Linked DNA regions of Homo sapiens: regions 1, 2, 3 and 4 are each linked to region 5. Evidence: promoter capture Hi-C in 16 types of primary human blood cells and fetal thymus (Javierre and others, 2016). All regions are on one chromosome and are shown on one strand. Each heading gives the region's core, a stretch centred on a gene start or on the middle of the fragment in contact. The rest is flanking DNA. Distances are from core to core; before and after follow the strand shown.

Region 1 (6,005 bases), core at 2,788-5,287, 290 kb before region 5:
ATCACTTGAGGCCAGGAGTTTGAGAACAGCCTGGGCAACACAGTGGGACCTCATCTCTACTAAAAAAAAAAAAAAATTTTTTTTTTTTTTTTTGAGACAGAGTCTCACTCTGTCGCCAGGCTGGAGTGCAGTGGCACGGTCTTGGCTCACTGCAACCTCCGCCTCCTGGGTTCAAGCAGTTCTCTGCCCCAGCCTCCCAAGTAGCTGGGATTACAGGCATCCGCCACCACGCCCAGCTAATTTTTTGTATTTTTAGTAGAGACGGGGTTTCACCGTGTTAGCCAGGATGGTCTCGATCTCCTGACCTCGTGATCCGCCCACCTCGGCCTCGCAAAGTGCTGGGATTACAGGTGTGAGCCACCGCGCCCGTCCTGATTTTTTGCACTATTTACACCTCAATCTGTTGGGCACCCCCACGATTATATCCGTAAGAGGGGGAATAAAGGGAGGAGGTCAAGCCTGAAATGTGAATCTAAATCTGGCTGATCCCAAAGCCCTGCTCATAATCACTTTTCCCTTCTGTATGAAGCTAGGATAAAGACTTATTTTATATTCAGTTTCCTTCAGGTTGATGCACATTAACAGGACTCTGACCTTGTCCTCTGTTGTGCTCCCCTAGTTCTTCCAGAAGGCAGCACTGAACGTGCGAGACAATGTTGGGGAGGAGGTGGACGCAGAGCAGCTGATCCAGGAAGCCTGTCGGAGCTGCCTGGAGCAGGTGAGACCAAAGGGGACAAGAGATGCAGGCACAAGGTTTAGCTCTCGAGCCTCTGATAAGAAATGCGATCTTAAGCCGGACGTGGTGGCTCACACATGTAATCCCAGCACTGTGGGAGGCCAAGGTGGGCAGATCACTCAAGGCCAGGAGTTTGAGACCAGCTTGGGCAACGTGGCTAAACCCCATCTCTACAAACAATACGAAAATTAGCTGGGCATGGTGGTGCACGCCTATAATCCTAGCTGCTTGGGAGCCATAGGCACGAGAATCGCTTGAACCTGGGAGACAGAGGTTGCGGTGAGCCGAGATGGCACCACTACACTCCAGCCTGGGTGAAAGAGCAAGATTCTGTCTCAAAAACAAACAAAAAAAGAAATGTGATCTTGTCATCAGTGGTATTTTGGGGAATGCCCAGCAAGCCACATATTGAGATAGGCTTGAGGCTGTTGCTGACAGGGAAAGGAAGGGAAGTAGCTACTATATGTCAGGTACCAGGATAAATGCATTATTTTTTTTTATGTCTCAGAAGAAACTATGTACAGAAGATATCTTTTAATTACTATTTTATAGATGAAGAAATTGTGACTTAGCAAACTCATAGAAGCAGAGAGTAGAATGGCAGTAGCTGGAGGGGAGAAGTGGGGGGATGTTAATCAAAGGGTACAAACTTTTAGTTATAAGATGAACAAGTTCTGGGCAATCTGATGTACAGCATGATGACTATAGTTTATCTCTATTGTTTACTTGAAATTTGCTAAGACCATAGATCTTAAGTGTCCACACACAAAATGGTAGTGGTGGATGTGTTGATTGATTTCATTGTGGTAATCATTTCACTATGTATATCTATGTCAATTCATCACATTGTACACCTTGAATATATACCATTTCTGTTTATCAATTATACATCAATAGAGCTAGAAAAAAATTTTTAAAAGCAAAGCAAAAAAAAAAAAAGAAATGGCTTAAGACACATAATAATTAGAATAGCTAAGATCTGTCTCACCCCTGCAGGTGCGTGGTGGATCAAGTTATCATGGCCCCATTTGGTATCATGGGGATGAGCACCCTGCTGCCTCCCTGCCTCTCTGGTGTGGTCAGGAAGCATGACATCAGGTCTATAAATGACTGTTCCCAAGATAGTAGAGAACCTGTTTACATGTGTCAGCTGCTGTTATTAGGAGGAATTGTTGCCATCACCATTTTATAGGGAGACATCAGGAAAGGTCGCCAATAGTCGCTGGCTCACTTTCTCACCTCCTATTCATTCTCTTCACTTTGTTTTCGCTTCAGTCCCCACTACTTCACTGGAACCCCTCTTGTCGGGGTCGCTAGTAACTTCCGTGTTGTCAAACCCTCTGGTCCCTAACTGTCCTCAACTTACTCAGCTTCTCAGTGACATCTGTCACAATGGATCATTTCGCGTTTCTTGGAATGCTCCTCTGTTGGCTAGAGTGCCTTGACTTTGCTCCAACCTCATTGCCTACTCTTCTCTCTCACCCCCCGCCTCTAACTGTTGGTGCCTTCCCAAGTTCAGTCCTCAAACCCCTTCTCTTTCATGGCTCACTGTTTTCATAGGTGTTTTCATCTAGTCCTGTGGCTTGGAAGCCAATTCAGCCGCTCATAATTCACACATTTATATCTCAGTCCAGAGTTACATTCACCGTTACCCAGTTCCAATCCACTCTTCTCACAGCAGCCAGACTGATCTCCGTAAAGATGAATTAGATCATGTCACTCCCCATTTTAAAAACCCTTCAGTGACTTTCCTGTTGCAGGGAGAATAAAGTCTTAATGCCTTACCATGATCCTGCTGGGAAAACTGGCTAGCCATATGTAGAAAGCCGAAACTGGATCCCTTCCTTACACCTTATACAAAAATTAATTCAAGATGGATTAAAGACTTAAATGTTAGACCTAAAACCATAAAAACCCTAGAAGAAAACCTAGGCAATACCATTCAGGACATAGGCATGGGCAAGGACTTCATGACTAAAACACCAAAAGGAATGGCAACAAAAGCCAAAATTGACAAATGGGATCTAATTAAACTAAAGAGCTTCTGCACAGCAAAAGAAATGACCATCAGAGTGAACAGGCAACCTACAGAATGGGAGAAAATTTTTGCAATCTACTCATCTGACAAAGGGCTAATACCCAGAATCTACAATGAACTCTAACAAATTTACAAGAAAAAAACAAGCAACCCCATCAACAAGTGGCCAAAGGACATGAACAGACACTCCTCAAAAGAAGACATTTATGCAGCCAAAAGACACATGAAAAAATGCTCATCATCACTGGCCATCAGAGAAATGCAAATCAAAACCACAATGAGATACCATCTTACACCAGTTAGAATGGTGATCATTAAAAAGTCAGGAAACAACAGGTGCTGGAGAGGATGTGGAGAAATAGGAACACTTTTACACTGTTGGTGGGACCGTAAACTAGTTCAACCATTGTGGAAGTCAGTGTGGCGATTCCTCAGGGATCTAGAACTAGAAATACCATTTGACCCAGCCATCCCATTACTGGGTATATACCCAAAGGAATATAAATCATGCTGCTATAAAGACACATGCACACATATGTTTATTGTGGCACTATTCACAATAGCAAAGACTTGGAACCAACCCAAATGTCCAACAATGATAGACTGGATTAAGAAAATGTGGCACATATATACCATGGAATACTATGCAGCCATAAAAAGTGATGAGTTCATGTCCTTTTTAGGGACATGGATGAAGCTGGAAACCATCATTCTCAGCAAACTATCACAAGGACAAAAAACCAAACACCGCATGTTCTCACTCATGGGTGGGAATTGAACAATGAGAACACATGGACACAGGAAAGGGAACATCAGACACCGGGGCCTGTCGTGGGGTTGGGGGAGGGGGGAGGGATAGCATTAGGAGATATACCTAATGTTAAATGACGAGTTACTGGGTGCAGCACACCAACAAGGCACATGTATACATATGTAACAAACCTGCATGTTGTGCACATGTACCCTAAAACTTAAAGTATAATTTAAAAAAAAATGCCTTACCATGACCCACAGAGCCTACCCTCGACTGGCTTCTGCCTGCTTCTTTAACTTCATTTCATCTCACCTCTTTTTTATTGACTATACTCTGGCTGTTCTGAACTCCTTTCTGCTCCTCCAGCACAAGCTTAGGCCATTTCACTTGCTGTTCTTAGTACCTGGGGTACTCTACCCTTAACTCTATAAAGCCGGCTCCTTCTTTTCTTCAGATCTTAGTTTAAATATCAGAGAGGTCTTCCCCTCGCACTCCTACCTCTGCTAAAATCTTGAGCTTTACAAGAGTTGAGGCCTAATCTTGTTCACCACTGTATTCCCAGCCCTGGAATATGACTCTTAGTATGTGTACAGAGTTTGCTGAATTATTGAGTAAATGAAGGAACAAACAAATGATAAATGAACAAACAAGCTTCCTGCTCTAATAGAACTTAACAGCCTACTTAAGCAGACAGGTGTGAATTAGATTACCAACAAATGTGTGCATAATTACACATTGAGACTTGATCACCCTTCACTGGAAAGGGACAAAGTTTGGAGGAGAAGAGCATGAATCCAATTATGGATTAGCAGCTTTGAGCCATCCAAGCATAGACATGGGGCAGACTATTTGGTATATAAGTCTAGAGCTCAGAGGATAACCTTTTGTCTACAGTTGAATTATGGAATCGTGGTTTATAGATGTTAATTGAAGCTGTGAGAATAGGTGAGAGCAGATAGAATATGTAATGAGAGAGGATAGGGAAAAGAACCAGATTGAGAAGGAAAAGCCAGCAAAGAAGGCTAAGAAAGAACGGCCAGAGAAGTAGAAGGAACACAGGAAGTGTGGCCACAGGAGCCTGTAGAAAAGAGTGTTTCCAGAAGGGGGAGCCCTCAGCACTGTCAAATGCCACTGGCAGAGGTCGGGTGAACCCAATTCTCCACCTGCTGCACCATCTCCCCTCTGCCCATTCCATCCTTTTCTTTGTCAAATGAGCCAGGTGTTCCCACCTTTGAGCTTCTGCACTCCTCCCTGCTGCTGAAACACTTCTGCCCAGCTTTTTTTACAGCCTCCTTCACATCTCAACTCAGAGGCCACCTTCTGAGCAAGGCCTTCCCTGGCCATTCCCGCAAAGTAGCCCTTCCCCTCTGGTGGTTCTCTGTCACATCTGCCTGGGTTTTTTTCTTTTTTTCTCACAGCATCTATCATGATCCACAGTTACCTTGTTTGTTTCTGTGCTTATTATCCAGATCACCCACAAACTATAAGCTCCACAAGAGCTTGTCCTAGTTACTGCTGTGTCCACAGCACTTAGGTCCCAGGTACTCAGTATTTATTAAAAGAAAAACAGCAGGCCAGGCGCACTGGCTCACGCCTGTAATCCCAACACTTTGGGAGGCTGAGGCGGGCAGATCACGAGGTCAGAAGTGTGAGACTAGCCTAGCCAACGTGATAAAACCCCATCTCTACTAAAAATACCAAAAAAAAAAAAAAAAAAAATTAGCTGGGTGTGGTTGCACGCCTGTAATCCCAGCTACTCAGGAGGCAGAGGCAGGAGAATTGCTTGAACCTGGGAGGCGGAGATTGCAGACAGCCGAGATCGCACCACTGTACTCCAGTCTGGGCAACAGAGCAAGATTCCATGTCAAAAAAAAAAAGAAAAAAGAAAAACAGCAGCTTACTGAGGAGTATGTGTTATACTAATGTATTTAGTTTGAAAAAACATACAGTATGTATTTACATGGGAAAAGCAAGGAAGAATTTACATTGAAACATTAATAGTAGTTTATGTAATGAGATTCCAGGTTTTTCTTATTTTGCTTTTTTACATTTTTTAATTTTTCCAGCCATGATCATTAATTCAAGTTTTTTTAAAAATAGATATCTATTTCTATGCATATAAATATATATATGTGTGTGGCTGGGCGTGGTGGCTCATGCCTGTAATCGCAGCACTTTGGGAGGCCAAGGCAGGTGGATCACCTGAGGTTAAGAGTTCGAGACCAGCCTGGCCAACATGGTGAAACCCCGTTTCTAATAAAAATACAAAAATTAGCTGGGCATGGTGGTGGGCACCTGTAATCTCAGCTGCCTGGGAGGCTGAGGCAGGAGAATCGCTTGAACCCAGGAGGCGGAGGTTGCAGTGAGCTGAGATAGCACCACTGCACTCCAGCCTGGGCGACAAGAGTGAAACTCCATCTCAATTTAAAAAAAAAAAAAAAATATATATATATATATATATATATATATATATATAT
Region 2 (3,438 bases), core at 194-2,693, 270 kb after region 5:
TTCATAGCACTTGTGCAGGGTGTGATTTGAGTAATGTCTGTCCCCTGAGAGGCTACGAGCGGCACAAAGATAGGGACCAGTAAGACCACACTGGCCTTACGCACAGCTGGTGTACTTTAAGTTCTCCGTCTGGTTTGATGACTGACAGAGAGCAGGCATGCGATTTTCAGGGGACTGGTCTGGTCTTTAGGGGTTAAAAATGGAGAAGGAAACCAACACTCTAACGGCTGGAACACTGTAAGACCAGGCTGTAACCACTACTCCCTGGAAGCAGAGCCTGCCTTACGGTATTGCCAAATGAAACCACTCCCAGCCTCCCTGTCAATCCAGCCAACCCTGATGAGTGCCCGGAGCATGCCGGGTAGACCTGTCTGTGCCTGGAGGAGCCTCAGGTCCAGTGTTATGTGATGATACCTGCTGCTTCATCTGGGTGCCCCCCTCAACCACAGATCCTCCTTTGAGACATTCCCATCCTATTGAAACGCCACCTTCTTCTCGAAGCCTTCCTAGGCTTCACGATCAGACACATTCTCCATCTCCCACCCCAACATTTCTGAAGGGAGCAGTTACATTCCATTCTGCACTCTGGAACTCTTGTTACTATTTCCCCTCCCCGGGGCAAACAGGGAGCTGGCTGTGTCCAAATGAATCTCTGGGGCTACAGTTGTCTTCAGAGGAGCTTTGGAAACCTGTGGCGGTATTTTGGGGATATGCTCCTGGCGTTCAGTAAGCAGGGATAAAGAAGGGGCAGTCCACATAGCCAATTACTGCTCTGCATCCCGCACGACTTTGACATCCATATAGGTGAAAGATTAGCTTATAATTATCTGAACCTAGAATGTAACTCTGTTTACATGTAAACACAGTGCAGTGTTTCCATGGTTCTGCTGTGAACTAACACTTCCAAGAATAAGACGCCTATGTACAATGAAGGGAGACTGAAAATGGTCAAAATTGGTCTCAAAATGGCACCAAAAGTGTCCATTCTGGAAAAACCACATCATCTACAGCAATGGCACTAGTGGTTTTCGAGGTGCGACACAACACGGCTGTGTCAGTCTGTGTCTGTGGCCATCACACTCCTAGAGGGTCCACACAGAAGGGACAGCTTCACTGCAACTTCCAGCACTATTGTGCCCAGAAACTTACATATTGAAACATATTTTGTTTTACTATCAATTACTTTCCTTTTATGTTATAGGGCATGGTTATTTATATTTTATTTTATTTTTTTTTTGAGACGAAGTTTCGCTCCTGTTGCCCAGGCTGGAGTGCAATGGTATAATCTCGGCTCACCACAAGCTCCGCCTCCCAGGTTCAAGCGATTCTCCTGCCTCAGGCTCCCTAGTAGCTGGGACTGATTACAGGCATGCACCACCACACCCGGCTAATTTTTTATATTTTTAGTAGAGATGGGGTTTCTCCATGTTGGTCAGGCTGGTCTTGAACTCCCAACCTCAGGTGATCCGCCCGCCTTGCCTCCCAAAGTGCTGGGATTACAGGCGTGAGCCACCGCGCCCGGCTGCATTTGTTGATTTTTAAAAAATTATGTGTAGGCAGTTTTTATTAATCATATGTTTCATTTTAGGGTAATAAAAGGGACTGTTACAAAATATTTGTAATAAAAAAGAGGTGTCAGATCCAATGAGTTGAGACTCCTACCTGACCTAATGCATTCTCATTCCTTCAAATGCCTTCTGTAAGCTGATGTCTTCCCAATATATGCCCCGGCTCTGATTCATGTGAACTCCAGAAGAATATCCAATGCCTACCTAACCTCTTCTTCCCTTAGATATCTAATATCAGGCATCTCACTCACATCTAGAGTGTCTGAAACTGACTCGTGTTTTCCACACCCCCATTTCATCCAAGCCTGCTCCTCTTCCTACTTCCCATCCCAGCAAATGGCTCCACTACTCTCCTAGTTGCTCAGGCCAAAAGCCTTAGGCTCATCTGATTCCTCTCTTCCCCTTAGCCCACATTCAATCAATAAATACCGTCAGCTCTATCTTCAGAAATATCCCAAATATGAGCACATGTCCTGAACTCCACCACTACCATCTCAGCCACCATCCTCTCCCCAAATGACTGCAGGAGTCTCCTACACGGTTCTCTCTACTTCTCCTGCAACCACCACCATCAGGCTCCTCCAACAAAGAGGGCGCATGGGCCTCAAACATACGTCTACAGATCTCAAAACCCACACTGTTTCCTCTACGCCAGGGTTTCTCAACCTGGGCGTTACTGCTGTTTGGGGACAGATAATTCTTTGTGAGAAGACCCATCCTCTACATGGCAGGATGTTTAGCAACATCCCTGGCCCATACCCACCAGACACCTGTCACATCCTTCCCCCCATCCCAAGTTGTGATACCCAAGAAATGTCTCTAGACACTGCCATATGTCACCTGAGGATCAAACCTGCTCCCTGTTGAGAACCACTGCTGACCCTGTCCTGTGACAGGCACTCACAGGACATGCTGGCACTAACAGAGCTTTCTTCTGAGCACTCTTCCCTCATGGCTCCTCCTGTGGCTTCCAAGCCAGGGAAGTCTGTTCACTCTTCTGTTAACCAACTTCTTGCAGCTCCTGCTTTTGCTGCATTTCCTGCTGCAGCACTGCAACACCGCAACACCCTCCCTCCACTGTTCAAATGCTGACCTTCCTTCACAGACCTGGCCCAGTTCCCCTGCCTCCAATAAGTCCCTATGGCTACCCCGCCTACAAGAAGCACTGTCTCAAATTTAACTTATTTTCTTATTGGGATTCAGAAGGTCACCTATGCCCAAACACAAAGCCAAATCTCAGCTAGAAGGGTCCCTGGAGATCATCTAGGCACTTAATGAGCATTTATCAAGCACTCCTGTAGGCCCACCACTGGAGACACAGACGTGAAACTGAAAAGGTCCCCACCCTTATTTTATAAGGGAAACAAGATTTAAAGGAGTAAACAACTCTTTTTGAAATCTCATTTGCTCAGGAAGGAAAGTCCATATTCTGCCCCACTTTCCACAGAGAGCAGCTTAGCTGGGGGCAGCAGTCACATCAAGGTAAGGCTGGCTGGTGCATCACTGGCACACCTGCTTCCCTCCATCTTCCTAACTGTAACTTGGGCAGCATGGTTTAGTGCTTAAGAGTGTGGGCTTTGGAGTTAGACACTGAGAATCAAATCCTGGTGTCCCTACTCACTACTGTGTGACCCTAAGTTACTTGACCTCTGGACTCAGTTTCTCCAACTGTAAAGTGGCATCAGGTACAGCATTAAATGCTGGCTCATGGTAGAGGCTTACTCCCCTCCTGGTCCCCTTAACAGTGAAACTTCCCCAGAGGACCCCGCACTGCCAGTCCAACTCCTTCACCCCCTGCTCTCACTTCAGCCCATCTCCACTGCTCCAATGAGTCACCACACCCTCCTCCCTGCTGCCCCTTCGAAGGCTT
Region 3 (5,437 bases), core at 2,049-4,548, 270 kb before region 5:
CCGGGGTCCGGTGGGCAAAAGGTGAGTGATGCGGCCTACCACTCGCCGGGCCTGCCATGCCCTAGGCATTGGTACCCAGAGCAAAGATTTCTAGGACCACCCCCCGCCGCCACCTCCTGGAGCGGGAGATCTGCGGGTGCAGGAGAACACACCAGGAGCTCGGGGCCTGGCATTCCCCTGGGCATGGGTGTCGAGGGCGGAGACTTCCGGGACTCCCACCTCCTTGCGCGGGTGAGATTCGAGAGATGGGGGACAGGCCAGGAGCTCAGACCGCTCTTTGAGACTCTCCCGAAGGAGAATGGGAGGGTAGGGGCGCTGCCAGACTCCTTCCCTGGTGGGCCTAGATGAAGACGCTCAAGGACCCTCGTGACTTGGCCGAGACAGGGGAAGGGAGAAGTTGAGTCGGGCAAGGAAGAGATGCTAAAGCCTGGGGAATTAAGAACATGCCAGAATCATCCCGAGGGAGTCTGGAATTAGGGAGGGTGAGGACTCGCTAGGATCGTCCTGTGGATCTGGTGAGTATACCCTGAGCTGAGCCTGACCTTGGTGATGTGGGGAGCCTCCATGACGGCTCCCCCTGAGATTCAGGTGGGAGAAGATGCACCGTCTGGAGGCCTGGCCCATCCAGACTCCCAGGTAACCCCGAATACTCTTTTTTCAGGCTACAGCAGGAGCTGATGACCCTCATGGTGAGTGATTAAGTGCCCAGAACCCCAGCCTTCCATCCAATTTTCAGTAGCCTCCTTTTTTCCGTCAGCTTTTTTGCTAGACATAGGGGTAATGTAATTTGCTCCCTCCTGGGAAAGAAGTTCATACACCCCACCTACACCATTTCTTCCAGCAGTCCCTCCTCCCAATTCCATCCCCCCACACGAAGTTATCTCGAACACTTCCCTGAAGTCATACAAGACCCTCCCTATCCAGTGTGTCCCTACTTCCTAGCCCCAACCAAGCTTTACCCACACCCAACTCCCCGCCCTTCTTGGTATTTCTAGCCTATGAATTTGGTTGCTTTATTTTGGATCAGAGTGATGAGATTAAGGGGAGGCTGGGCGCGGTAGCTCACACCTTATAATCCCAACACTTTGGGGGGCTAAGGTGGGCGGATCACTTGAGGTCAGGAGTTCGAGACCAGCCTGGCCAACATTGCAAAACCCTGTCTCTACTAAAAATACAAAAATTATCCAGGCATGGTGGTGCATGCCTGTAATTTCAGCTACTCGGGAGGCTGAGGCACAAGAATCATTTGAACCGTGGAGACAGAGGTTGCGGTGAGCCGAGCGCACCACTGCACTCTAGCCTGGGCGACAGAGTGTGTGTGTGTGTCTGTCTCTGTCTATCTCTCTCTCTCAATCTCTCTCTCTCTCTCTCTATATATATATATATGTAAATATATATTTTTTAGTAGAGATGGCATAACCCCATCTATATCTCATATATATACACATATATATGTGTGTGTGTATACATATATATGTGTGTGTGTGTATGTGAGCATATATATATATATATATATATATATATAAAATTAAGGGGAAAGCTCACCCACTGACCTTTGCTATGCCCAAAAGTGTACTCCACATTCCAACAAATGTGTTTTCTCCCCAGATGTCTGGCGATAAAGGGATTTCTGCCTTCCCTGAATCAGACAACCTTTTCAAATGGGTAGGGACCATCCATGGAGCAGCTGGAACAGTAAGTGTAGGGCTGGGATGGGTGAGTGAGTCTGGGGAAAGGTGGGAAGTGAGATCCAAGTGCGAGCTCTGCTTCAAGCCTTTGGCGGAGCAAGACACTCCTCCTGTGACTGTTTACATTCTCTGAGCCATGTGGCCTTGTTCTTTCCCTCTGTGCAATAAAGGGTGGGTTTAAAGCAGGGCTGCCTATCTTAGATGTTTACATGGGGGGACAGACAGCAAGGAAATGGATGAAGTGAGGACTTTGGCCAATAGGGCCAGATCTCAAGAAGGCAGCTTCCCATTGCTGCAGATCAGGTTTAAGATGAGTCAGAAGTCCAAATCTGTGCCAAATCTAATTTTTACGTATTAGCAACTAATATTCTTTTTTTTTTTTTTTTGAGACGGAGTCTCGCTCTGTCGCCCAGGCCAGACTGCGGACTGCAGTGGCGCAATCTCGGCTCACTGCAAGCTCCGCTTCCCGGGTTCACGCCATTCTCCTGCCTCAGCCTCCGAGTAGCTGGGACTACAGGCGCCCGCCACCACGCCCGGCTAATTTTTTGTATTTTTAGTAGAGACGGGGTTTCACCTTGTTAGCCAGGATGGTCTCGATCTCCTGACCTCAAGATCCACCCGCCTCGGCCTCCCAAAGTGCTGGGATTACAGGCGTGAGCCACCACGCCCGGCCAGCAACTAATATTCTAATTGAACTAAAGCACAGGATGCCAATTTACAATCCTTAGACCAAAGAGTCACTGATGTCTCCACCAGATAAGAGGAAAGCATCAGGCTAGGCATAGTGGCTCACACCTGTAATCTCAGCACTTTGGGAGGCTGAGGCAGGCAGATCACATGAGCCCAGGAGTTTGAGACTGGCCTGGGCAACATGGTGAAACCCTGTCTCTAAAATAAAAACTAAACTAAAAAAACTTTTTAAAAAGGCAGTGGGGAGCATCAGAACCAGCTCAACAGTTTGTCTACTGTCCGGTCCCAGAGAAACTCAAGATTCTAGCAAGCCCCTTGTGTGGGGCTTGGGTTGGGACATGAGGCTGCTGCTGGAGCTTACTCTGCAACTGTTTCTCCAAATGCCAGGTATATGAAGACCTGAGGTATAAGCTCTCGCTAGAGTTCCCCAGTGGCTACCCTTACAATGCGCCCACAGTGAAGTTCCTCACGCCCTGCTATCACCCCAACGTGGACACCCAGGGTAACATATGCCTGGACATCCTGAAGGAAAAGTGGTCTGCCCTGTATGATGTCAGGACCATTCTGCTCTCCATCCAGAGCCTTCTAGGAGGTGACTTTAGAGACCACCCCTCCCCTCCATGCAACTTGGGAACCTGTCAGGACTCCCTGGGGTCAGCCTCTTCTACCGCCTTGACCTTCTCTTTCTCTCCACCCACAGAACCCAACATTGATAGTCCCTTGAACACACATGCTGCCGAGCTCTGGAAAAACCCCACAGGTGAGTCCTCAGTCCTTGAGCCCAGGGTGATCCCTCCCCCAACCTTCAAAGGCTCCCTCAAACAAAAGGAGCCCAGTGACTTGGGACCGGGTTGGTTGGGGCAGGGTGGAGTGTCGGCAGCAACCCACTTCTGTTTCTGCCCCAGTGCTCCTATTTGCTATAAAATAGCAATTGTTTTATAGCAGAATAAAAATGTTTGGCGATAAATAATTTTGGGAAATTATTGGTGAGACCAAGGCAGGAGGATAGCTTGAGGCCAGGAATTCAGTAGAGTGCCTTGCCTGTGCCCTCCAGTCTCACTGGAAGCAAGCCCTTCCAGGAGAGCTGCCTAGATGGGCAGTGCAGGGAGAATGCCGGGCTGGGAAACCAGCCCCTCCTCCACCTCCTCCGACCTTTGCATCCCTGGTCCAGCTGCCTCTTGCCCACCTTAATTCATCCTGGGCCAGGCACAGTGGCTCATGCCTGTAATCCTAGCACTTGGGGAGGCCGAGGTGGGTGGATCACATGAGGTCAGGAGTTTGAGACCAGCCTGGCCAACATGGTGAAACCCCGTCTCTACTAAATACAAAAAAAATTAACCGGGTATGGTGGTAGGCACCTGTAGTCCCAGCTACTCAGGAGGCTGAGGCAAGAGAATCACTTGAATCTAGGAAGCAGAGGTTGCAGTGAGCAGACATCATGCTATTGCACTCCAGCTTGGTCAACAGAGTGAGACTCCATCTCAAAAATAATAAATAGTAAAGATTAACTCATCCTGTCTCCATCACTCACTGAGACCTGCCTGTTCTCTTCCAGCTTTTAAGAAGTACCTGCAAGAAACCTACTCAAAGCAGGTCACCAGCCAGGAGCCCTGACCCAGGCTGCCCAGCCTGTCCTTGTGTCGTCTTTTTAATTTTTCCTTAGATGGTCTGTCCTTTTTGTGATTTCTGTATAGGACTCTTTATCTTGAGCTGTGGTATTTTTGTTTTGTTTTTGTCTTTTAAATTAAGCCTCGGTTGAGCCCTTGTATATTAAATAAATGCATTTTTGTCCTTTTTTAGACAAGTTGTTGCGTTGTAATTTCACTAGGGTTGGAGGTACTCAGGGTAGGCAGAGGTGGAACTTAAGGATGTGGGGCCAAGCAATGGGGTGACAAAGATTTATTCCCTTGTACCTTATTTTATGACTCTGCATCTGTTTCTTCATCTATAAAATGAGTGTCACAATAATGCCTCCTGTCTATGGAGTCGGTGATGTGTACCAGCAATGTTAGTGAATGTTGGAGCTCCCTCAGCTGTGTTGCAGATGAGGCTGAGCCAGACCTTAGGCTGAAACCTACTCCTATAGCTGTAGAAGGAACAAGCGTGTGTGTTGGGGGGGGGATCCCAACACACAGCCACCCATGTTCTGTCCTGAAGAAGAATGCTTAGGTCACCCTAAGCAGGTCCAGGGCCTGGGGAGACAGCCAGGAAAAAAGCCCCTTCCCTGGCAGGACTCAGGTCTGAGCTCTGGTCTCCAGGCTCTAGCCCAGGTCCCCGGTGGAGCTCCACCTCCAAGGGGGCACAGTCGCCTCCTGCTGCATATCCCCCAGGGAGCCCCCAGCCCCTTGGGCTGCCTCTTTCCCCTGGCCTGATGAAGGCTCCAGTCTTTGAGCCCCTAGGAGGAAACACCCCTGCTGACCAGCTGGGTCCCCACAAGGGTCGGCAGGTGGAAGAGTAGGTTGAAGTGATAGGGCCCCCACAAAGCCCTTCAGGAAGATCTCCAAGGTAGATAAGCAGCATCCAGATGTGCTCCAACCTTGCACCCAACTCCTTCAGGTCTGTTAGCAGCTGGTTGGTTGTGCAAGCCTGAAGCGGGAGGGGTTTGGGATTGGAAGTTGGGTCCCTTCATGTCTATAATTGTGCTCTTAGGTCTCTCCTCTTGGGTTTTTTCTTAATCTAACATTCATACAAATACACTTGGGATCTTGTTAAATTCTTTTCTGTAGGTGTGAAGTGGAGCCTAAGATCCAGTCTGTTTATTTATTTTGGTTTCTAAATAGTTTCCAAGTGATGTCATTGCTGCGGTCTGCTTAAGAACAAAATTTAGAGCAATGTTCTTAGAATGTGGTCCTTCCAGCAGCAGCAGCATCACCCGGAACTTGTTAGGCAAATTCTTGACCCCAAACTGCCCTCCAGGTTCTGAAGGTCTCCCACGGTTGAAAATCACTAGGTTAGCGGATACTGGAGAAAACCAGAGCTCAGAACCTGGCACTAAATTAGTCAATATATGCTGGCCAGGGCCGGGTGTGGTGGCTCACTCCCTGTAATCCTAGCACTCT
Region 4 (5,836 bases), core at 741-3,240, 310 kb after region 5:
CTCTGCACCTGACCCGCAGCAGGTGCTTTGTGGAGATTTCTGGTTTGTGTATCTGAAACCAAAGCACACTGAGGCTAAGAAACCTTCACAGCAAGAACTCACCATTGTAACAGAAGACAGCTCTCCACTGTCTACAGGTGGGCCACACTCCCTCGTGTGCTATTTGGTCCTTTACAATCTAGCCATCCTGGACTACGGGCTATTTCTATAAGGCAGGCCATGTTCTTTCAATTCTTCTGTACCTTTGCACATTCTCTTCCTCCTACTGACTGTCAGAAGAGCTCCTATTCAAGCATCAGAGCCTAGTTCGGATGTTACCTCCTCCTTGTACTAGTCTTAGCTTTCTCTACTTTCCCTGGCAAAAGTAAATAGGACAGGGGCCTCTGTGTTCTCACAGCATCCTGTTCATACTTCCGTTAATGAGTACGATTTTGTCATACTCTATTACAGTTACATATTTACACATCTCCACTAGCTCCTCCTCCAGAACAGGTATAACTCTGCAGTCTCATAACCTAGCACAGCACTTGGTGTCCAGTGAAGGCTCAGTAAGCACCTGTGTCTGCTTAAACCCAATGGCTCTGATTTCTTCCACTCCTGTGAACCAGGCTGGCTCCAAACAGACAGGGACAGGCATGAACTGTGCAGGCTGTCTGGTGTTCCCTCTGCGTCCCAATACCCTCTAACTACACAGTATTTCCATTGTTTAACAGTTTGTTTTGGCTGGGCGCAGTGGCTCACACCTGTAATCCCAATGCTTTGGGAGGTCAAGGCAGGAGGATCACTTCAGGCCAGGAGTTCGAGACATTTCTCTACAAAAAATAAAAATTAGCTGGGCATGGTGGCGTGTGCCTGTAGTCCCTAGCTACTCAGGAGGCTGAGGCAGGAGAGTTGCTTGAGCCCAGGAGTTCGAGGCTGCAGTGAACTATGATCATGTCACTGAACTCTAGCCTGGGTGACAAAGTGAGATCCTGTCTCTATTAAAAAATAAAAATAAAATAAAAAACTGTTGTTTTCATATCAAACATTAGAATAAGTCTTACTGAAAAATCAGGGTTAGCACCCCTAACTCTAGTTGAAAGAAAGAGGAAAACCTCCCTCTGCTTTTCTCCCTATCGAAAAGAAACATCAGGAGATAGGAGACTAGAAATAATTCTGTTCTCCAGATAATATTCCCAGGATAAAGGATCTCCTTATAGGGAACCCTTCCAGCACGTGTTTGCTTACTCCCTTCATTTTCATTCTAGAAAGGAAGTAGAAATTAGGTCAAAGGAATTCAGTAACATTGCAAAATTCTCAGGGTTATAAATAGCCTCTTGCTCCGCCACTCAGCAGTACTGTAGCTCAATTGCAAACCACCAGCATAAGGGAGCTGTAGTTCCATATCCAGGCCCAGAGGGCCCCTTCCGGATTAAACAACTCCCCACCCTTCTACCTTCCACTCCTCTTTAAGCATTACAGATATAAGGATGATTTGGAAAACTCAAAATGCTACAAAACAGGAGACAGGCACACACTGACCTGATGACAATTTTACTATAAGTCATAAGAATGAAAGGCCAGTTTTTCAAACACAGAGCTGGGAAAAGTAGAGAAAAATAGGAACATTAGTGTCTCCAATGGAGCAGTCTCTAAGTGGCTTCTAGAAGGTGTGCTTATAAAATCAGCACTGTTACAGAAGCCCCATGGAGCTTTATCAATCACCCATGCAGTGACTGCTGCTTCACGGAGCTGGATTCTGAGAGCAGGATTGGAAACCGAATCTTAAGGAATGAAGTGAAAGATGATCTCCTCCTATTAGTAAGGAATTTGGGATGAAGAATGCCAGGTTTCCAGCTCCCCTCCTTCCCCCTATTCCTTTCAGGATAAGAACGGATGTGTACTTTTTGTTCAGTTATTTGGCTTTTGATTTGGTGAAGGAGGCATGGGTAAGTTTGGTTTATGTTTCCTGCAACAGAATGCAACCTCATCAAGAAGGCAAGTTGGAGTCACGCCCTTTCTAATCGAGAACACAATCTCTATAAAGGCTTCCCCCTCTGAAATCTTCTCATCTGAGAAGTGATTCAACTTCCCTTAGTTCAGTCCACTGAATGACGATCAGACTCTGAGGTACAGAAAAGGGAGGATTTGACTGGCAGAGATTAAGGTTCTTATGTTTACTGCTGGAAGCCCTGGGAAGGACCACCATACCAACAGCAGCTGAGGTTTCCCCTTTTTGTTGAAGTATGTTAGACACAGGACTCATTCACACATGGTAAAAAGCCACAAACTTACATAGAGGCAAAGGTGTGGTGAGAAGGGGTGTGGGGGCAGGGGAACTATTTGGGTTTCTTCATCTTGATTCCTGCTGTAAGAATGGCCTGGGTCTTCTCTTATCCTGCACAGACACCTTCTGTAGTGTTCCTATACTTAAAGAATAGTGCTTAAGTAAGCTCCTTAGCAGAGCATTCAACTTACTCCAGTTCCACCGTGGCTCTGTGGTGGAACTGGCTTTCAGATTCGCTTTTGCAGATGCCATGTTCTCACCAGACCACCTGTTCCCTGAAAAACCATGCTCTTCTGAGTCTGTATGTTTGCTTGTGCTATTATTTCCTCTTCCTTGTCCAGCTGGCAAACTTCAACTCAACCTTCAAGGCCCAGCTAAGATAATCACTCTTCTATGTGGCTTTCCTAATCCTCTCACCTCAGGGAAAATTAATTGCAGCCTCATCTGTGATCCCAGTCTTCTGTACATACCTTCCTGATCCTACTGATTTATAATTCTCTATGTGCAGTCTCTTCCCTGGCTACGATAGGTGTGATGTGCATACCAGCAGCGGCAGTATCCCTGGGAGCCCAGACCCACCCAATCAGAATCTGCCTTCAAACAAGATCCTGAGGTGGTTCAAGTGCATGTTCAAGTCTGGGACATAGGCTCTAGATCAGATAAGGTCCGAGAAACAGTGGTTCTCAACTCTGGTTGTGCACCATCAACACACACCCCAGGTCATTTATAAACTCTCAGATGCTCAGGGTTGACCCACAGCTCCAGGAGAGTTGACAACCTGAGGGCAAGGACTCATGAAGCCTAAGTCTATTCCCCCATCTACTCTTCCCCCAGTTTGCAGCACACTGCCTGCCACATAGCTGTGTCCACAGAATTCCACAGGAAAATTCCCTCCAGGGTGCCTCCAGACCTAAATGCCTTCAGAAGAGAGTGAAAACACTACTGACTGAGGATTATTAATTGCCTAGAACTTTCCAAATCCCTAACCACAATGACTGAAGAGATGAATTTACAAAAAGTCAGTGTTTACAAACCACTTACCTCAGTTTTTGGAAATGAGAGGAAACAGAAACTGAGATGGAAAATACAGATGAACTTCAGAATTAAACTTTAGAAAACCGTGATTGCACAAGGAGATGGAGCTTGGGTAGGGAGGGAGTGTGGTGTGCTGGGAAGAGTCCTGGGTTACAACTAAAATCTCGGGCTGTGAACTCCTTCAATACTGACCATAACAGCACAGCATTGTTCTCAGTGTAAAATCAGGCCAAGCCCTTTCATTACATAAATAAGGGAACTGAAGTCCAGAGAAGCTGGCAAGGCCATGCCACCAGTTAGGGACAAAAGAAGGCCTAGGCCCCCACTTCTGGTTTAGTCCTCCTCCTGCAGCACAGCTTTGCCACAAACACAAGCCTTTCTGGACCTCAGGTCCTGATCTACATCGGGGGCTGGACTAGATGTTTTTGAGCTTTCTTCCAACTTTGGCCTTCTAGTGAGGAAGTGTAGCTTAACAAGTTAGGAGCTGTGTTCTGGAGTGGGAAAGGCCTGAACTTGGATCTTAGCACTAACGATTTTCTTACCTGTAAAATGGGGATTAGCATCAACTCTACCCCGTAAAGCTGTTGTGAGCATCAAGTGGGATAATAAAGCACTAAGCATAATAGCAGAATTCTAACCGTGTGAACCTGAAGAAACTGCAAAAGCTCTGAAACCACGTTTCCCCAACACAGTAAGCCCTACCTGCTAGGCAGGTATGTTGTGTATTGTTGACAAAATAAGAGAGCATATGTGAAGGCAGTCCGGGAGGAAAGTCAATACAAAAGGCAAAGCATTTGTTGGTGTTCCACTATTATTATTACTATTTCCCAGTGGAAGAACTTTGGAAAATGTTATGATCAGTTCCAAAGCAGCAGCTAATACAATGCCTGGCAAATAAGAAGTGCTCAACAAATATTTTCTAGTGACTCACATGAAACCAGCATAGCATGCCTAATAGGGTTATAAATTCAAATGTCTTGGGCAGCCAAGCAGGTAAGTAAATAAAACAAGCAGCCTCCATGTAGGGTCTGTAACACTGCAAAGTACCACCTTGCCTAGAGGAGTTTAAATCCAACATTTTTAAAAACACATCATGCAGCTTGGCCAAGACAGCCACTTTGCAGCCTCCAGCCCATACTGATTCTGGCTCTTCATTACACCTCATGATGCCTTGCATACCATCTAGTCATTTTATGTGATCCAGTCTTGTCTTTCCAAGTATACCTGAAGCATCCTGAAGATGAAGGCTATGACATACACCGCCCAATCACCAAAAATGGCTTACAACAGTGCTGGTCACGTGGTAGATACTCAGTGAGCAATTGCTGAACTGGGGCTGTAGGCCGGGCGCCGTGGCTCACGCCTGTAATCTCAGAACTTTGGGAGGCTGAGGTGGGCGGGTCACTTGAGATCAGGAGTTCAATACCAGCCTGGCCAACATGGTGAAACCCCGTCTCTACTAAAAATACAAAAATCAGCCGGGCACGGTGGCAGGCACCTGTAATCCCAGCCACTCAGGAGGCTGAGGCACAAGAATCGCTTGAACGTGGGAGGTGGAGGTTGCAGTTAGCCGAGATGGCACCATTGCACTCCAGCCTGGGCGACAAGAGTAAAACTCCATCTCAAAAAAAAAATAGAAAAGCCAGGCTATAAACTCAAGCCTAGTATTCTCAGCACCTCTGAGATGCTGCATGGTATGTGTTTTTTTCTATCCAGGTCCTGGGACCAGACTTAGTCCAGGCTGGGCCGAGGTATGGTGACCAGGTCAAAGGACTTGCCTTGCAGGGTTTTCTTCAACTGCATCAAATATGCTTCTTGCTGAGCCACCTTGGCAGGTGGTACTGCTACATCTGGACACATTATCTGAGCACAGAACAAGCTAGAATATGCTGTACACTGAAGTTTTTAAAGAAGTTTGGTCCTGACTTCCTGTACCCTCAAACTTCCTTTGCACCTCCTAGAGTCCACATCAGATATATAGAAAGACCAGACTGAAGATGAACAGATAGAGGTCCTAATCTCACCTCCTCCACTTACAAACTCTAGAATTATCCCCGGCAGGCAACCTCTTTTAGAAGCTTCACTATCGATATCAGTAAAGTGCAGATAACAACAGTTATCTCAAAAGACTCTAGAGGGTATACAAAGTGTGTGACACTGTACAGCCCAATACCACAATCCCTGGCCATAGGTGGTTACTAAGCACTTGAAAAGTGGCACAGGCTGCCCTCTGTGTAAAATACAAACCAGGTTTCAAAAACTTAGTACAAAAAACAAGAACGTAAAATATCCCATTAATAATGTTTTAATATTGATTATGTTATAATAATATAATTTTGGAATATATTGTGTTAAATATATTACTAAAATAATTTCAGCTGTTCCATTTTTTAATGTGGCTACTAGAAAATTTAAAATTATATCTATGGCTCACATTACATTTCTATTAGACAGCAGCATCACTCTAGCATAGAGCCTGGCACACAAAAAGCATTCCAAATGTCAGTTTCATTCCCCTGCAGGTAGGACATCAGT
Region 5 (5,464 bases), core at 1,519-4,018:
TCAGGAATAGACGTTTCATTCTTCACGTGGGGAGTCAAAAACAAGAGAACAACCTAAACTGAAGGGAAGAAAAAGTTTAATATATTTCTTGTGAAGATTTTCCATTCTTAAAAGCACAACTAAATTTTATTAATCCTCACAGTAGTAAAACATTACACAAAGGCACTGCCATCTGCAGGTCATAAACATGGACTGCTTGCAATGATTATTTAAAATGAAGTTTCAAACCAATAAATCTTTTCTCATCAGACTACGAAAGTCTTTCCAAAAATTGTTTATTCTGGTTGGACGCGGTGGCTCATGCCTGTAATCCCAGCACTTTCGGAGGCAGAGGCGGGCAGATCACCTGAGGTTGGGAGTTCGAGACTAGCCTGACCAACATGGAGAAACCCCGTCTCCACTAAAAATATACAAAATTAGCCGGGCGTGGTGGCGCACGCCTGTAATCCCAGCTACTTAGGAGACTGAGGCAGGAGAATTGCTTGAACCCGGGGGCCAAGATCGCACCACTGCACTCCAGCCTGGGCAACAAGAGTGAAGCTCTGTCTCAGAAAAAACAAAAACAAAACCAAAACAAACAAGTTGTTTTTTCTTAGCTCTCAAGCACTGGTAGATGAGTTTCCATTTGCTGAAGTTCTGAAACGGACGCCGGGCTTAAATCAAATTCTCAGAAATGTGAAGAAAATGACCTTAGCCTTACGTAAATTCTACATTGTGATCATACCAAGGTAACCCCAAAGAAACATGTTTTTAACAGGGGGAGAGATACATACACACACACACATATATATACATATACATATATATATATTTTTTTACACAGCCTTTGAGGGGAGGGGAAGAAAACTTGAATAAGCCTGAACTGACTTATGGGACTTTCCTGTCAATGATTTAAATTAAATCTGCTCTTACATTCACATAAACAGATCTTATGAACACACTATTAACTTACAAGTAAGTTAATCTGTCAATGCCTCCTTTAAACTTGTGGTGTTCACAGGTATGCAACATTGAGCAAACTGAATCTAGAAAAACTCCTTCCAATGAGCCTTGCAATATGGATTCGCTGGGACATTCTACAAGGAAAATCAGTGTTTCTAAGTTTTAGGTTAAGAGAAGTGTCAGAGGTTTCAAAGGCAATCTGAAGAGTGACAGATGAGCTCAAAGAAAGGCAAAGAAATCACAATAAAGGAAGAAATGGATGTTAACAAATAGCCAAGTGATTTCTAATATCCACAATGCAAAGCATGGGCTTTACTGGTTGCAAAAAGTAGACACAAAGTTAGTTTTCACACCCAGACTGACTCATAGAGAAAACATTAAATTAAGAGTTGTCAAAACTCACAAAAGCTTCCCCAGCATTTGTAGAAACATCTTTTTATGAGCCAACAGGGGGCTACGACATCACAACGCTGTAAGAAAATTCAGGCACACCGGGTGCACCTGAGTGAACACAGTTCTTGCAGTTCCCTGGGACTAACACTTTTAAGTCAACAAAGAGAACAGTTTACAAGAAAGCTGTTACATTATCCCTGAAGAGCCCAGGGCATTCATAGAATCTGCTTTGCCTCAGGAAAAATTCTGTGCACAGAGTGCAAGCCAGAAGAACCACAATTAATCAGCTACTCCTCGGGCAGCGTTTCCCAAAGTGTGGAACGCAGAATAATTTCAGGAGGAACAAGGACGCACTGTTTATTTCAACAGACAGATATTTATTTTTTTTATAAGCATTAGAAAAATAACTGGCTTTCCAGTACCCGGTTTGTGATTGAAGTTGCCGCCTTAAATATATTTAAGGAGAAAAAAAGAGTCAGTTTGAATTTTTTAAAAAATGTAACATTTGGTAAATAGCAGTACAGATGGTCCACGGACATAAAGGTGCAACGCGAGACTGAAACGTGTGCAACGCCGTCCTAAGAGAAGCCCCTCGCCCGCTGGCGGGGAGCGGACAGTGCCCCGCGCCGGGAGCTTGGAAAGCCGGCCGGATCGGACGCTGGCGCTGAGCTACGTGGTAAACCCGGGAACAGTTCCTCTCCCCGTTCTCTGGGCCCGAGGTCCGCGCCTACAAAACGCGTGGGGTGTCACACCACAAGGAGACACCCCGAGAATGCGGTCAGGGGCCGCGAGACGGTGGCGGGGGACAGCGCTCAGTACACCGCTCGGCGCTGCACGCCTGGAGAACGCCCGGTGCCACGGGACGCCTTGGGCCCGGTTCGAATCCCGACTGCGCCACTGACTCGCTGAGGACCCGCGGGCGAGCGACTCCACCGTTTCGACAGGGGGTGCGGGATGTGCGGCTCAACCAGAGAAGCCTTGAGGACTCCTAGTGACCGACCGTTCGTGCACAGACAGGCGGCTGCGATGCGACGCCGCCGACCTGCGTCCACCACAGAGAACCGTAGGCCGCCTCGGCCGGCCGGGCCTGGGCCTGACGGGAGCCGGAGGCGGCCGCGCCCCGCACCGGGCATGCGCAGCACCGCGCGCACCCGGAGAGGAGCCGAGACCGTGGCCGCGCGTCGAGTGGGCCTTCCCGCCTCAGCCTCCCCGTCCGGCCAGGCCCCCCACAACGGCCTGCCCGTCAGCCCCACGCCTCGGCTGACGGCCAGCGCTTCCCGGCACTCACCGCTACCAGCGCGGCGGGCTCCCGGCCGCTCCTTCGCCTCAGGCCCGCCGCTGCCGCCTCCGCGTCGGCCCACCTGCCCGCCGTAGGACAAAGGCGCCACCAACCGACCGGCGCGGGCACGAGGCAATGGCGGCCGGGCGGAGAGTGGAGATGGGGGCAGAGGGCGCGCACGTAGCGGCAGGCGCGGCACTGTCGCAAGACCGCGCGTGTTTACGGCAGGGCTGAGTTGGGGCGTCGATCTCCTTGGCAATGAGGGCCCGGGAAGTGGCTCTCGGGCGGGAGTTGAGAACGCAGGGAGTTGCCTAGCAACAGCGTCCTAGGCTGAGGATGGGCCCCACGGTGGTCGCCTCAGCCCCCGCCCCAGAGTACTTTTTTTCTGTTTTCAGAGCACATTCCCTCCTCCCTAACTGTGGGAACAGAACATTCAAATCCCCAAATACCTTGATTTAGTCTTGCATAAAACTGAAAGCAAAAACCCCAAATCCCTATACACGTGTGTATTGGAGAATATATATAGTCCTGTAACCTCCGGACCACAAGGAACAAAGAGAGCAGAAAGGTGGAGAAAATGTTGTATTTAAATTTACATTTAAATAGGCTCTGTACTCTATTAGTTTCACTGACAAGCGGCAAAAGGTTTCTGGAGATATAGTCACAGGTTCTTCTTGAGTTATTTATTCTTGGAATATTCGTTCAACGTCAAAAATTTCCCGGAATGTAACTGTTGACCGTGAAGCCTGTAAAATGTTGTACTGTTCATTTCATGTATAGAATACATTTGTCACAGGGAATGGGATTTGCTCACACAATAGTAAATGCACTCTATTAATCACAGCCATAGCTATATTAATCAGGTACTCTTTTATTAGTGTTGGAAACGCCTCAGACTCCATGGGGTCTAGTTCTTCTCCTTGCGAATATTGCCTACTAAGAAAAAATGGTGCCTGCGGAATTTAAACACTACAAGAAGCCAGATTTCTTTGACATCTACCCCTATGCTCACTCCACTCATTTATTCACTGAATGTTTATTACATACCTACTATGTAGCCCTATACTTATTATATGCCTGCTTGTTAGGCGCTGTTATGAGCAAATGCAGACCCTTTTCTGCTATCTTTGAGATTACAGTCTGGTGAAAGCATTAGACGAATAATCACACTTGAGTGTGTAATTGCAAACTGAGATAAACGCTGTGATGGAAAGAAATAGGGATTCTCAATGGTTGTAACTAGAACTTTAGTTTACTCACAGGCAAAGTGGGTTATTCCAATTCCCACTTTATAAGACTGTATGAAATTAGAAATGAAGACATAAAGTCTGTCAAATAATGGATACCCAACAAATGTTCATTCTTATTCCTTTCCCTCCAATATAGATCCTAATACTATGAAAATTTAAGAAGAATCATATTAATTAGATGATTAAGATAACCAAGCTTAGGGAAAAATGTTGGTTTAGAGGTGAGTGGCAGTACCTCAAGTGGGTAGTGGACTTTAGCCAAAAGATGTATTCAGTGACTTGTGTATTAAGTGTTTAATGAGTGTTTTTTATGCACTTGATTTTGTGGAGAGTAGAGAGTAAGGTAGACAAAATCCTTGTGCTTAGGGAGCTCATGGCCTATTAGGGAATATGAGCAATAAACAAACGATAATATATAGTGTTTGATGAGTATTTTTGATAGAGGAGCAAGTTAATTTTATGAAGAAAGATTCTTGTAGGGAGGCAGGTGCTCAGGACTTGGTGACTTCTTATTTAGATGTTTGCTTTACATAATAGGTAACATCTATTGTGTGCCTACCATGTGCTGAATCCTTTACACATATCATCTCATTTAATCCTCACAACCCTATTGAGAGGTGACAGCGTGCTGGCAGCCCTCACAGCCCTTGCTCACTCTCGGTGCCTCCTCGGCCTCGGCGCCCATTCTGGCCGCGCTTGAAGAGCCCTTCAGCCCGCCGCTGCACCATGGAAGTCCTTCTCTGGGCTGGCCGAGGCCGGAGCCGGCTCCCTCCGCTTTCGGGGAGGTGTGGAGGGAGAGGCACGGGCGGGAACCGGGGCTGCGCGCGGCGCTTGCGGGCCAGCTAGAGTTCCAGGTGGGCGTGGGCCTGGCGGGCCCCACACTCGGAGCGGCCGGCCCGCCCTGCTGGCCCCAGGCGTGAGAGACTTAGCACCCAGGCCAGCAGCTGTGGAGGGTGCGCCGGATCCCCCAGCAGTGCTGGCCCACCGGCGCTGCACTCGATTTCTCACCGGGCCTTAGCTGCCTCCCCGTGGGGCAGGGCTCGGGACCTGCAGCCAGCCATGCCCGAGTCTCTCCGCCCCACCAACCCTCCTCCCTCGGGCTCCTGCGCGGCCTGAGCCTTCCTGACGAGCGCAGCCCCCTGCTCCAAGGTGCCTGGTCCCATCGACCGCCCAAGGGCTGAGGAGTGCCGGTGCACGGTGCGGGACTGGCGGGCAGCTCCACCTGCGGCCCAGTGGAAGATCCACTGAGTGAGGCCAGCTGGGCTCCTGAGTCTAGTGGGGACTTGGAGAACCTTCGTGTCTAGCTAAGGGATTGTGGGTGCACCAATCAGCACTCTGTGTCTAGCTCAAGGTTTGTGAACACACCAATCAGCACCCTGTGTCTAGCTCAGGGTTTGTGGATGCACCAATCCACACTCTGTATCTAGTGGGGACTTGGAGAATCTTTATGTCTAGCTAAGGGATTGTGAATGCACCAATTGGCACTCTGTATCTAGCTCAAGGTTTGTAAATGCACCAATCAGCACTCTGTCTAGCTCAGGGTTTGTAAATACACCAATGGACACTCTGTATCCAGCTAATCTAGTGGGGACGTGGAGAA

What was found. Contacts are between HindIII fragments. The CHiCAGO score rates a contact against its expected background, and 5 or more counts as called.
Region 1: a fragment that was not itself captured here is called in contact with the fragment with the promoter of NCOA5 in region 5 in 11 of 17 cell types (fetal thymus, total CD8 T cells, naive CD4 T cells and 8 more); the score reaches 10.4 in fetal thymus.
Region 2: a contact is called between a fragment that was not itself captured here and the fragment with the promoter of NCOA5 in region 5, in 4 of 17 cell types (fetal thymus, neutrophils, monocytes and 1 more). The highest score is 9.4, in fetal thymus.
Region 3: a contact is called between a fragment that was not itself captured here and the fragment with the promoter of NCOA5 in region 5, in 1 of 17 cell types (fetal thymus). The highest score is 5.2, in fetal thymus.
Region 4: a contact is called between a fragment that was not itself captured here and the fragment with the promoter of NCOA5 in region 5, in 3 of 17 cell types (fetal thymus, neutrophils and total CD8 T cells). The highest score is 6.7, in fetal thymus.

Annotation. Positions count from the first base shown.
Region 1 is chr20:45,794,726-45,800,730 of GRCh38, forward strand. DNTTIP1 (deoxynucleotidyltransferase terminal interacting protein 1) reads left to right here. Exons shown (of 13, transcript NM_052951.3): 4 at 620-718. Among named protein-coding and RNA genes, the nearest start is that of DNTTIP1, 5.8 kb to the left of the region's middle. The HindIII fragment of the contact is 279 bases long and covers 3,899-4,177 here.
Region 2 is chr20:46,359,325-46,362,762 of GRCh38, forward strand. The region is part of intron 1 of SLC35H1 (solute carrier family 35 member H1); the gene reads right to left. Among named protein-coding and RNA genes, the nearest start is that of SLC35H1, 3.4 kb to the right of the region's middle. The HindIII fragment of the contact is 4,951 bases long and covers 1-3,438 here.
Region 3 is chr20:45,812,776-45,818,212 of GRCh38, forward strand. It overlaps UBE2C (ubiquitin conjugating enzyme E2 C), which reads left to right. Exons shown (of 6, transcript NM_007019.4): 1 at 1-21; 2 at 662-689; 3 at 1,609-1,695; 4 at 2,766-2,970; 5 at 3,079-3,138; 6 at 3,934-4,177. The coding sequence ends at 3,992. Among named protein-coding and RNA genes, the nearest start is that of UBE2C, 2.8 kb to the left of the region's middle. The HindIII fragment of the contact is 4,695 bases long and covers 952-5,437 here.
Region 4 is chr20:46,399,160-46,404,995 of GRCh38, forward strand. The region is part of intron 1 of ELMO2 (engulfment and cell motility 2); the gene reads right to left. Among named protein-coding and RNA genes, the nearest start is that of ELMO2, 4.5 kb to the right of the region's middle. The HindIII fragment of the contact is 6,773 bases long and covers 1-5,377 here.
Region 5 is chr20:46,087,194-46,092,657 of GRCh38, forward strand. NCOA5 (nuclear receptor coactivator 5) reads right to left here and starts at 2,769. Exons shown (of 8, transcript NM_020967.3): 1 at 2,624-2,769. RefSeq lists enhancers at 1,241-2,055, 1,993-2,202, 2,056-2,869, 2,883-2,932 and a silencer at 2,373-2,722. The HindIII fragment of the contact is 2,710 bases long and covers 1,349-4,058 here.